Linked DNA regions of Homo sapiens: region 2 is linked to region 1. Evidence: promoter capture Hi-C in human tissues and cell types (Jung and others, 2019). All regions are on one chromosome and are shown on one strand. The core of a region is centred on a gene start or on the middle of the fragment in contact, and the rest is flanking DNA. Distances in the headings are between cores, read along the strand shown.

Evidence for each region. Contacts are between HindIII fragments. The study calls those that stand out against the background at their distance.
Region 2: a contact is called between a fragment that was not itself captured here and the fragment with the promoter of C1orf21 in region 1, in 2 of the 25 tissues and cell types used here (psoas muscle and spleen).

Annotation. Positions count from the first base shown.
Region 1 is chr1:184,385,043-184,391,466 of GRCh38, forward strand. It overlaps C1orf21 (chromosome 1 open reading frame 21), which reads left to right and starts at 1,987. Exons shown (of 6, transcript NM_030806.4): 1 at 1,987-2,326. It overlaps C1orf21-DT (C1orf21 divergent transcript), which reads right to left and starts at 1,662. Exons shown (of 1, transcript NR_172919.1): 1 at 711-1,662. RefSeq lists silencers at 1,473-1,532, 1,623-1,732, 1,763-2,022. The HindIII fragment of the contact is 5,612 bases long and covers 1-4,975 here.
Region 2 is chr1:184,449,054-184,455,425 of GRCh38, forward strand. The region is part of intron 1 of C1orf21 (chromosome 1 open reading frame 21); the gene reads left to right. Among named protein-coding and RNA genes, the nearest start is that of C1orf21, 65 kb to the left of the region's middle. The HindIII fragment of the contact is 4,324 bases long and covers 2,125-6,372 here.

The DNA.
Region 1 (6,424 bases), core at 737-3,236:
ACACCCCTCAGTTATGTATTTATTTCATTTTACCACAGGCAAAAGTTTCAGGCAGGGCGTAAAAACCCAAGGGAAGAGTGGACTACATTTGAATAAATCCATCAGCTGTGTCCATTCTCCTCCCTAACTTTTCAGAAGGAATGGAAAGAGAATAAAATTCTACCAAATTTGAGTTTAAAATAATCAAGTCTGAAACAATAGCTTCTATTTATTGAGTTCTCACCCATGTGTCAGGCACTATGCAAAGTGTTTTACATGCATTGCCACCTCGTTTTATTTTCTTTTTACTTTCACAAGCTTATGAGGTAGGAACGATCATTATCAATGCCTTTACAGATGAGGAAAGAAAGAAGAAATGAAACAAGTCACCAGTGGTGAAAGGGATGGGGCTGGCTGCCCCTGATTGAAATCTCAATTTATCTACCCTCCCTTCTTAACCGCTCCTTTCCAAGAGGCTAGACTACAAAAAATTTGGGCTCCAAGAAGTATGAACCAGAATATGGATATTTTGTAAAAATGGAATGTAAGTTGAGGTTCCTGAACAATGTGATGTTAGGCAGGGTGCGGTGGAATTGGCCTGTAGTCCCAGCTACTTGGGAGGCTGAGATGGGGAAGATCCCTTGAGGAGGATCTCTTGGGTTCAGGAGTTCGAATCCAGCCTTGGCAGCAGACCCCATCCCTGAAAACAATAAAAATTAAAACAACAACAGTGGGATACTAGTCTTTTAATTTGAAAAAAAAAGGGGTGGAGAAAGGGAAAACCAGTTTTCAAAAAAGGCCAATTTCCTAGACATTAGTGGTTGATTACTAACTCATTTCATTAAACTAAATTATGAATTGGCTTTTCTCGTCAGTGTCACCACTCTGATGGCGTTCTTTTCCATTTTCCATCTTCACCCTGGCCGAATGTGGGAAATGATCTGGTTTGTGCATAATCCGCGAGGCCCAGGGAGGATCTTTTGCCCCTATTGTTTTCTTGGGTGTTCTCACTCTGGGGGCCTGACATTCCTCGCGTGTCTAAGGCAATGAGGGAGCAGTGAAGCGCGGGGAAGCCGCACAAAAGACATCCAAAGGCTATCAATGGAAAAAGATCAATTAGGTGCACACAAGAAACACCCAATATGCCAGGGAAGAGAAAAATACCCTTTTCCAGAGGGTGGGAAATTGATTGAGCTTCTGTGAGGGTCCACAAAGAACTGGACGGATGCAGTGGTGGATGGCGATCTCTCTGGACCACTCCGGACGCGCCCAGCAGACGCAGCCTACGCCTTTAGGTCCTAGGAGGCTGAGAAGGGTGGGGAGAGGGGGGCAGCACGATCTTGTGTCTTTCCTCCCCGTGCCGCCTCTACCGAATCGCGGATGCTTCATTAATCTTGCAGGCGCCGCAGCTCGGGTCAGTATGGAGGCGGATCGGTGGCAGAGCCCGGGCCTCTGGGCTGCGCCCGCCCGTTCAGCCTGGCCCGGGAGGGGAGCGGCCGCGCGGTGGGCCAAAGACGCCCGGCCTTCCCTCCGTCTGCTTCCAGCAGGCACAGCCGGGAGGCTGGGCTCAGGGGCTGACCCGAATCTCCCCTAGAGCTGGGCCCACCCGGCTGCCCCCCGAGCAGCCTCGCCGCTCCCACGCCACCGCCCAAGTGACAGGCCCGGGAAGGCCGGACGGGACGCAGTCTTCCCGCCGGGGTCTTCCCTCCGGCTGGCCGGCCGCTGCAGGGCGCGCGCGCACACACGTACACACACACACACACCTGCCCACACACACACACACACACACACACACACACTGCCGCCTCCTTCCCGCCCCGCAGCCCTAGCAGCCCCCAACCCGCTCCCCAGCGCGCTGCGCCCCGGCGGCCTCCGCAGGCCCCGCCCCGGGGAGGAGAGCCAGGCGCGCGCGGGAGCTAGGCTCGGGGAGGGGCCGGCGGTGGGGGAGTGTCTGCTGCCCCCGCCCCTCGAGTGAGTGACTGAGCGAGGAGCTCCCCTCCCTCGCTCGCTCCTCGCAAGCTCCCGCTCGCTCCCTGCCCACTCCCGGGGGGACGTTCCGTGCCGCGGCCGCCGCGGCCGCTGCTTCTTTCACACTTTAGTTGGGAGCTGCGCGCCGCGCTCAGTTACTGGAGAGCTGGCCGCGCGCCGCCGCCTCCCGCACGCTTGCACGCGGGCCCGGCTTCGGGGTTTTGGGTTCTTACTCCAAGCGGCGGGGAGGAGGGGGAGCCCCGGACACACTGTGGGGAGGAGGAGGAAGAAGAGGAGGAGGGAGGAAGAAAAAAGACGAGGAGGACAGGGGCGGGGGGCGGGAGGCTTGCCACCTTCAGCCCCCCCGCGAACGCCCAAGGTAAGTGTGAGCCATTGCCTGCTCTGGGGCGGGGGGAGCTGGCGGTGCAGCCCGCCCCGGCTCGGCTACCCGGGCATCCCCGGGTGGGCAGGGAGGGAGGCCTGCGGGGTGTCTGCCGCACGGAAGGGATGGGAGCCGCGGTCGTGGCGCTGCCTGCGCGGGGCCCGGGCCGGGGCTGCTGCTGGTGCGGGGCTGGCGGGGTTGCTGCCAGGGACGGAAGCTGGGGTGGGGGAGCCGCGAGGGGCGTCTGCCGGCCTGGGCGGAGGGGCTGGGATGTGGTCGGGGCTGCTGACGACTTTCGTCACATCGAGGCCTGGGTGGCTGGTGTTAGACACCCCTCCCTTCCCACCCGCACCCTGCCGCCCTCAGCCTTCCTGCTCTCCTCTAGCTTTGCATGTAGCCACCGTACTTTGCAAGCCAGAGCTTGAAAGGAAAAACACAATTTAGGATCCTTTGCTAAGTATCCAAGTCCCTTCTCTCGCTCCGACTGATTGATGTGTTTGTGTGGGTGGTTTGACCCCCGGGATTTCTGAAGTTTTGACCTTTTTGGGGTGGCTCGTTTCGTTGCATCTGTTTGCCCACCTCGGTGTATTTATTATTCGTGCCCATGCGAGGCAGCCAGAGGGTGCTTGGTTATTGTACACGAAACAGATTTCACTCTCCTCTGCAGGCAGTTCGCGAAGTGCCGCCGCCGCGGCTGCCTTTGGTCTGCTGGTTAATGTCCTTTCCCTATCATCCACCCTGCTCCCTCCCTCTACGGAGGGTTAGTTTTTGTTTTTGTTTTTGTTTTTTCCTTTCCACTTACTGTTTGTGTGAGAGAAGTCCTGGGCTTAAGGGCTCTCAGCACTCGTTCATTTCTCTTCTAAAGCTCTGAATGGCTCAGGCATGTCGGTAAAATTTGGGGTGGTCCTCTTTGCTCCAAGAGTTGCATGGCCAAAGATAAAAATATGCACACATAAACACGCATTAATTCTGAGAGACGGCAAGCAGTTTGAGAGAGAAATAATTTGTTTTCAATAGGAAGTCGGTGACCTATGGGATCTCTTCCATTGCCGGTGGGTTAGGAAAATTGTTTTAAAATAGATAGTGCTTGTGTTGTCCGTGGCTGGAAGACAGCCATAGTTCAGTTACTGAAGCAATTCTGAAAGTGATACACCCTGGGCACCCAGAACCTCAGTAAAGACACACGTAGTCTGACTCAGATGTTAGGAAGGGGACTGACACACCATAGATTCCATGGAGTATTTTTTTCTTTCTTTTCTTTTTTTTTTTTGTAGGAGACTGTCCAGACCGTTTGGGGAAATGACAAGTTCATTACACAGACAGATGTAATGAACACCTCCCTATTCAAGGGGATGGGTTCAGCTTCTGCCTAATAGGAATAACCTTTTGATTTGATAGAATTGGAATGTACCAGGATAGAAACAAACATAGGTGGAGTGGGCCTGAGCTACTTCAGCACTGTTGTGGGGAGAAGGTGATGTTTCTGAAGGGTCTTTTAAGTTCAAGATGCTGAATTTGGAGTTTTCCCCCCTTTTTCATATTGTCTAGAGCTGGATTGTAGGATCAATAGAACATGTTCCATGTTGGCTGTTTGGAAATGTAATTGTCAGACATGGAAATTAATTTGGATTGGATCACCTATTTTTGTTTTGCTACTTACAAAGTAGGAAGTACCAGTGATAGGACAACGGAGTGTATTTATAGGCGTTAAACCAATGCTGGGACTGGTACTTCACAGATCACAAATGCAGCGTTGAAAGAGGATGTCACTCAATGTTTACTGCTGTGCAAACCTGCTTCAGAGAACAGTCCTGGAGGCTTCTAAAAAGGGCAACAAAGACCAGTGCGCTCAGCTCTTGGGTGGGTGGGTGCCTGAGGAGGGGCGGGGTGCTTCTGTTGTCTAGCTTTGTCACAACTGGGCATGTTTCCAAAGAAAAATGGCCTTGGGTGGTAGAGAGGTCTCACATCCTCCAGTGTTAAAAGTTCATCCTAGAAGGACCTTAAAGTTCCAGCTTTCCTTCTCAGGGTTGACTTAATTTAACTCCGAGTTTAGAAAACTGATAATTTTGTTTTCTTGGCTAGACATTTATCCCTCCTCCGCCCCATCTCACTTTATCATTCAACATGGGTTTCTGGGAATTAATAGGCCACTGTCTGAAGGGGTTTGATTCTTGAAGAATCACAGGGCATCATTCAAGAGCTTTGGTACTATTTGCTATGACTTATTCAAAAATCCTACTAAGGAGGAAGGTGGTTTGCTCTATTATAATTTCCAAGTGAATCATGCCTCAGTACTGTGTTGCCTTTGTGACCAGGCAAGCTTTGAGTTTTACATTCTGAGTGGCTTGCTCCAGGCTCTAAGCAGCCCCCTTCTATAAGACGTTTTTTTGTTTTTGTTTTTTGTTTGTTTGTTTTTGTCTAAAGGAGACACCAAAGGCTGGGAGAGGGAATGTCATGTCACCTTCCAATAGGGCAGGAGAAGGCAGGTGACATATTTACAGAAGAGTCCTAAGGTGATAAATATGACTGTCTTCATTTGAATTTATCAATACAACTTACAGCCATATAATGAGGCATCTTGTGTAGCTCACATGTTTAAGTACAGAGGTCTTGGGGTTCTGTATCCTTTGAAGTTTCCTTCCAGCTCTACTTTGAGGGTGGCCCTAACTAAAGGGTAATCGTACAGTAATTCCGGAGGGAGATTGTAGGATACTGCCAGTTAACAGAGAAATTGGTGAAACCTCACTGTCTTATGATACTTTGTTTTCCTCCAGCTTCTTAGAACCAAATATAAAGAGAGGAGAGAGCATTGCTTTGTTTGTATTTTCTCTCCTGATGTTTAGCTGGTATCTTAGAGTGTGGTCACTGCTCATTTCAGGTGATTTAAACTGTTTCATTCTGCACCTCCTCATGGGTGGAATGGAATCCAGACGCATCAAAGAGTTAGGAAAGGGTATGTACACATGGGTAAGCTTCAGACTCCAGCAAGTGCTCTGAGCAGCACAGTGCTGATTATCAATCAGGAGTGAGGGTATGGCAGGTCTGATCTTACAATGCAAGTTTACATGAAAATAATTTGTATGTGAAAGTTGATTTGCCTCCAGTTTTTTAGGAACATATTGACTACGTAAATCTACTTATACATCTAGTCAATCAGAATTCACTCAGAGATATTGGGTCGATCAGTCTTCATGAAAATATACATCTCCTAAAAATACTATTTTGGAAATGGATATAGTGAAGCCTCCCTCCCAAGGTGAGGGAAGGGTTACATGATATATAATACAGGTTGGAGGACCCTACACAATGTACGTGGTGGGTACTCAGATGACCTTTTTTTTTCCAGCTTTACTGTGTAAAGATACTTTTATGAATAGGCTTTTAGCAAACAAATACATCTTTGGCCACTTTATGGTCCTTCTTTGAGCCTCAATTTTAAAAGTCCCGTAGCATGCAGTAAATAAAAATTATGCTTAATTGGGTTCTTCATAAAACACAAAAAGCAGATTGCAATAGACCAGTATAAAGTACTGCTTAGAAAACTGAAAAAACAGGGATAGGGCTTGTGTACAAGAAAGATTGCGACAGTGAAACTATATTTTAAATAATGGTGACAGTTTTGACTTCCAGAGATCATAATTCAAGAGCTTATCTGAAGTGGCATGTAAATTACATACATACATATTTTTTAAAGTAGGCAATTATTTAGCTTGACTGTCTCGGTTCTGAAGTTTAATTTTACAAGTTATAGTTGCAACAAGAAACAACATGACATGCTGTGGTTATGCAATTATGACAAGAGTGGTTGGAGGTAAACTGGGCTAGGATAAACATAGAAATGAGCACACAACAGTGTCTCCAGTCACCAGGTATTAAGAAGTTTCTTTGCTTTTTTGTTAACTATATTACTAGAAAATGTATTTCCCAGGTTGTAGGCTAATCACCTAAACTAATGATTGCTTTCTCTTACATTTGTGAAAGGAGATGCAGCTTCCCCAGTCTAAAATGGAAGCTGAGAAGACTAATTGGCCAAGCTACTGGAAGGCTAGGCCCTTTTGCTCATCTCAGCAACCCCCATAGCAGCTAGCACACTAC
Region 2 (6,372 bases), core at 3,037-5,536, 66 kb after region 1:
ATTATTATTATTATACTTTAAGTTCTAGTGTACATGTGCACAATGTGCAGGTTTGTTACATATGTATACATGTGCCATGTTGGTGTGCTGCACCCATTAACTCGTCATTTACATTAGGTGTATCTCCTAATGCTATCCCTCCCCCTTCCCCCCACCCTACAACAGGCCCCGGTGTGTGATGTCCCCCTTCCTGTGTCCATGTGTTCTCATTGTTCAGTTCCCACCTATGAGTGACAACATGGGATGTTTGGCTTTTTGTCCTTGCGATAGTTTGCTGAGAATGATGGTTTCCAGCTTCATCCATGTCCCTACAAAGGACATGAACTCATCATTTTTTATGGCTGCATAGTATTCCATGGTGTATATGTGCCACATTTTCTTAATCCAGCCTATCATTGTTGAACATTTGGGTTGGTTCCAAGTCTTTGCTATTGTGAATAGTGCCGCAATAAACATATATGTGCATGTGTCTTTATAGCAGCATGATTTATAATCCTTTGGGTATATACCCAGTAATGGGATGGCTGGGTCAAATGGTATTTCTAGTTCTTAACTAGATTTCTTAATACTCAGGAACCACTGAGCTAAATTATTGATAGTGGACCCATTTTCCAGGAAATATAATTTAAGTCTTCCAAGAACGGTTTTAGTTGGAAAAGTCTTGTATGTATCTCAACATGATACATACAGTACCAGTCAAAATTAAGATCCCTATGTGTAATATATTTATAAGCTATGGATTAGCAACTGTGAGTTTGTGTCCAGTTGTGTGATCATGTATCTCCATATCACTTTCCTTCAGTGTTTGGTAACACCACGCCAGGTTCAGGGAGAAGGCAGGATGTGCTTGGCTTTATTAGTTCTGAAATTAGGAAAGGAAGGCTCGCATTGGATGTTGTAAATCACAGAAAAGTCTCCTTCCTGATGTGCAGGTTATGGGTAACAGACAGAACACAAGACGGAGGGAGGTATTTTTATGGTAAGATTGGGGCGTGTGGTGTCTTCAATTCCAGGTGTTATGAGTCAGTTGCTTAGAAGGCAGGACAGTGAGGTTGTAGGTGGATGCCTGATACAGTCATGGAGGGAAGGTGTGGGGTCACCTTGTAGAGTGCTTGCATGAAGGGCTTGTTACTCAAGCTTCAATCAGAGAAGCACCTCTTATGGGATTCTCCATGTCAGGGAGGTGGAGAGCACGCCACCACACTGAATGCAGGCTTCTCAGGAGCCCTGTGAACCTGGTGCCCCTCCAGACAGTGCTCCAGTCACTGTCTTTTTCTGGACTCCCCTCGCCCCAATCAGAGGCACCCTTGATGGGTGCCTGACCAGCTGTAGCACTAAATCAGGGAGGGCCACTCATGATAGAATAAGCTATCTGCTCAATACTGTATGCATTTTAATGAATGTCAACAATGCTTTTAATAGGAAGAATGAGAAATCTGTGAGCTTTATGATGACAGGTAGCAGAGGTAATACTCCTAGTGAGATACCAACCTTGTAGGTTTTGGCATTCACAAAAGCGTACACAACACACACACAGACGCACATATATACATGCATAGCCAGATAAAGTTTATCAAAATAAACATATAGCCAAATTGCCTCTTTTGCTTTAACTTTCCTGTCTTCTGCCATGTCCATATCAATATTATACTTAATTAAATTTATGTGGCTGAAAGGCTTTATAAAGGACAAGAGAGAACCTAACCTATTTTTGTTCTTATTAATGACTTATTTTATTCTTTAAAATCAGAAATGATGATGGAGAAAAAAGTTTCATGTGACCTCTGAATTCACCAACAGTATAAAAATTGTGTGTTTTTGTTTGTTTGTTTGTTTGTTTTCCTGACAGAATCTTCCTCTATCGCCCAGGCTGGAGTGCAGTGGCGCAATCTCAGCTCACTGCAACTTCTGCCTCCTGGGTTCAAGCGATTCTCCAACCTTAGCCTCCTGCGTAGCTGAGATTACAGGCACATGCCATCACGCCCAGCTAATTTTTGTATTTTTAGTAGAGACGGCATTTCGCCATGTTGGCCAGGCTGGTCTTGAACTCCTGACCTCAGGTGATCCGTCTGCCTCGGCCTCCCAAACTGCTGGGATTACAGGTGTGAACTGCCATGCCTGGGCTAAAAATTGCTTTTTAAGCCTATGATTTTTTTAAATGGACCATATAAAAATAATTGCCATGTCTGTTCTTTTAACCATTTTATATTTTTACCCAACTTTGGAACATTTTTTTGTTTTTGTTTTATTTTTTCGGGACAAGGTCTCACTCCATCTCCCAGACTGGAGTGCAACGGCACGATCATAGCTCACTGAAGCCCCGACCTCCTGGGCTCAAGTAACCCTCCTACCTCAGGTTCTCAGGTAGCTGGGACTGTAGGCATACACCATCATGCCTGGCTAATTTAATTTTTTTTTTTTTTTTTTTTTTTGGAGAGACAGGGTCTCACTGTGTTGCCCAGGCTTGTCTCGAACTCCTGGCCTCAAGTGATCCTCCCATCTCGGACTCTCAGAATGTTGGGATTACAAGCATGAGCTACCAGGCCCAATCTGGAACATTTTTCTAATCTCAGTCTGTCCTTCAAGTTGTAATAGTGTGTTTTGTAGTCCTGAAGAATTCTACACACAGACACGTTTCTCTAAAGACTTAGGCATGGTTGCCTGGAATGCTCAAAAACAAATGAGTTAAAAGCTAACAGCAAAATTTTCTCCCAAATGAGCATATTGCACATTGTAGGCCTCTTGTGCTCCAAGTTCACGAAAAGGGCATTAGCAAATTACAAGCATCTGAAAGCTCAAGTTTTCCGTGTTTATAAACTTAATGAGCAAATGCTCCATTGAGTGATTATATCCTTTATAAATAATTTTGTTTTTAAAAATAAATGTTAGTGTTAGTTTGTTGTTGGAAATGAATAAAAGCACTCCTCAGTCCCCAATTAATCCTTTGCTTTCCCTGGAAGGCAAAAAATTTTGTGACATTGAAATCACAAGTCCAAGCCAAAGCCGCCTCCTTAAATGAAATTTCCTTCTTAGTAGTGTGGAATGCTTTCCAAACTCCTAGACATGTCCATGTGCAATGTAGAAGTATTCCTAATGAGAATGTCACAAGAAGCTTTTGGTGGAGAGCTTATTTATTGTTTATAAGATAGAAGGTTTGATTGGCAGGAGAGCAATGAAAGATGATGGTATGGCCACCATGTCTCCTATGAAGGGCTTATTTCTTTTATAAAGAGTTTGGTTTCTAGAGTCCCCACAGGCTGAGTGCAAAGCACAATTTCTCTTCATTGCAGGTGTGAGTGTGAGAACAATTCTTTGTCAGTCCAAAGGGAGAATCACGTCATATCTTATAGGTAGGGTCACAAGTTGGAGGTGGGTAACTGGATGCTGTTGTATTTGTCAGAAACAGCAGAATTAAAGATTGCACCAGAAGTGAGCTCTTTGTTTTTCTGCTTATGAAATAAGGTCATATTTGTCCCATGTAACATGAGGCAAAGTGGCAAGAAGAGGGCGTAACCACCACGTTGATTGTTTGCATGTAGGAGGGCCACAATTTGTACTTGTTCACAGTACATCTGTGTGGTCAATGGCTCAGAACAAACTTTGATTGATCTTTTTATAGATAAATAATACAAAGAAGTTCCATGAATCTCTTTATATTCGTGGTATTACACAAAATTGTTGTAATTGTTCAGGTTATACAGGGTAGGAGCAAAATCAGTATCTTCCTTGTTAATTCTCTTTGCCTGTCCCCTCTTGAGCTCTCTCTGTCTTTCTTGTTTTAATATGACCGGCTCTGTTTGATGAGAGATTTTTAAGGTTTTTAAAAATTTTAGTAGCTTTGTTTCATCTCTATTGTTTATGCCTTAAAAGTTGTCCCTGGTATCATGAGGAGAAAACTTTGAGTCAGAAAGAAGCATAAAGCCTTTCATTGAAAGGATTGATGTGTTCCAGAGGCAATTGGTCTGAATTCAGCTAGGGACATTTCCCTCCTAAACAGTAAACTGACCAGATCTTTCTAGGAAGACCTTCGAGCTGGGAAGCGCACCATGAAATGCCTCTAAGTGATGCATACTACAGCCCACATCACTTTGGGGAGAGGAAGCCAGAGTTGTGCTCTAGCCAAGCTTATTTTAAAGAACTGAACCCCATTTCCTTCTGCAGAGATTCTCTGAGTGGAAGGGAGAATGCAATATTAACTAGCTGACTTTGCCTTCAGATATTTGCATCCTTGCGGTCCCAGGTAAATGCAGCATTGCCCCAGGTACAGGTTGAACAGAAAGCAGTGCTTCTGACGGTTCTGACGGTTCTGCTTTTGCTTTACAACTCTTTCTGTGCTTTTCATAAAATTTTAGTTTGAAGTACTGACGAATATACAATTTAGTGACACATTTTTGCTAGTGCTGCCTTTCTCAGGAAACGAATGTTTCATTTTCCTAAAGGAAGCTACTCAATGTAAACATTGATCTGCGTTTTAATGTTTTGTCTTTTTATTAGTTTGCTGAATATACTGATGTTAATATCCTCTCTTCTGTTCTGAAGCCTTGACTTTGCTTGATACTGCCACCTATTTTAGTTTGTAATCTCTGAAGATATCTAGACCAAAACTTTTTTTTTATTAGGTTATTTGTTTATAGCTGCTGTGTTTGACTTGTTCTTCAAGAAATAGCTGTTAGCTTTTATGTGTGAAACCTCAGAGGTGAAGGGACAGTGAGGGACAGATATTTCACAGCCTTTGTCTACTTGAGTTAGCATATAAGATTGAATGAAGCTACTGTCCCTACTTTGCCCAGAATGTGCTTTTGAATTATAGTTTCAAAAACGAACTCTGAAAGAGAAGAGAGATTATATTTACTCTTTCTTTCCAGCTGTTGGAGAGATTGATTGAAATTTATTTCTAAAATTGAAAGCAAGAAACAAAGCATTATATGGGCAGAAGGTTAATGGGAATTGTGTAGGGACCCTGAGTGCTTTGTGCTGAAGACATCACTGGCATCAGATCCATGAGGAAAACACTAACAAATACTTAGAGTCAATGGATTTCTTTTGTTTACTTTTGGAGAAGCAACTTTGTATGTTTAAAACTTAATCCTTATCCAGTTACTGAAACTGAGAATCAAAGGAAAGGATAGCAATATTTCAAGTTTTGCTATATTTTATATTTTTCAGTATGATATGGTTGAGTAGAATAGGAACTTGTTATTTTGTATGGATAATCGCTTATCAAGGTATATGTAAATAGAATCAGTAATTATAATTAAAGATACCTTGAAACCAAAGAAAATGACTGAGGTGAGTCTTAATGAATTTAGAGGTTTATTTTGCCAAAGTTGAGGAGATGCCTGGGCTAAAGGGACATAAGCCACAGTAGGACCTGTGGCCTGTACTTTTTCCAAAGAGGATTTTGAGGTCTTCAATATTGATATGGTTTGGTTCTGTGTCCCCACCAAATCTCATGTCAAACTGTGGTCCCTGATGTTGGAGGTGGGGCCTGGCAGGAGGTGATTGGATCATGGGGGTGGATTTCCATGAATGTTTTAGCACCATCCCCTGGTGCCGTTCTCGTGGTAGAGTTCTCACGAGATCTGGTTGTTTAAATCTATATGGCACCTCCCCTCTCTCTTGCTCCTGTTCCTGCCTTCTAGGACATGCTGACTCCCCCTTTGCCATCTACCATAGTTGTAAGCTTCCTGAGGCCTCCCTAGAAGGTGGGCATGTGCTAGCATCATGCTTCCTGTGCAGCCTGTGGAACTGTGAGCCAATTCAACCTCTTTTCTTTATAAATTACCCAGTCTCAGGTGTTTCTTTATAGCAGTGCTATATAGATATATATATAATAGAGAATGGATTAATACAAGTATTTAAAGGAGGAAAAGCAGGCTGTAAGAGAAAAGAGAAAGAAAGAGGGCAAGGTCACATTCTTGTGAGTCTTTGACTAGAGTTCATTGAATCCACATGTTGCATGTGAAAAGAAGGGGGCAGGGGGGACAATCAATTATGTATTTGTCTCAGGCTCAGTGAATCTGCATTTCTGATCAGTTCTGTCCAAAGTGAATAAACACTTTGGGCCATTCAGAAATGGTATAAGCATACTCAGGCCCATGTGTGGACTCACGTTGCAGTGCTGTTTTGCTGTTCCAACTATCAAAAACAAGTTCTCAAAGCCTGAGTCTCTTAAAAGTCAGAAGGAGCCTTACAGGTCTGATTCTGCCACAAATGTAAGGTGACCTGTGTTTAAACTTGTAAATAAAACCTATCAGAGCAACATTTCTGAAACTTCAGTGTGCATACAAATAACTAGGGATCACTTGGGATCTTCTTAGAATTGCAGATTCTGTGGTCTGGGCTAGGGCTGAGATTCTGCATTCCTAAAAA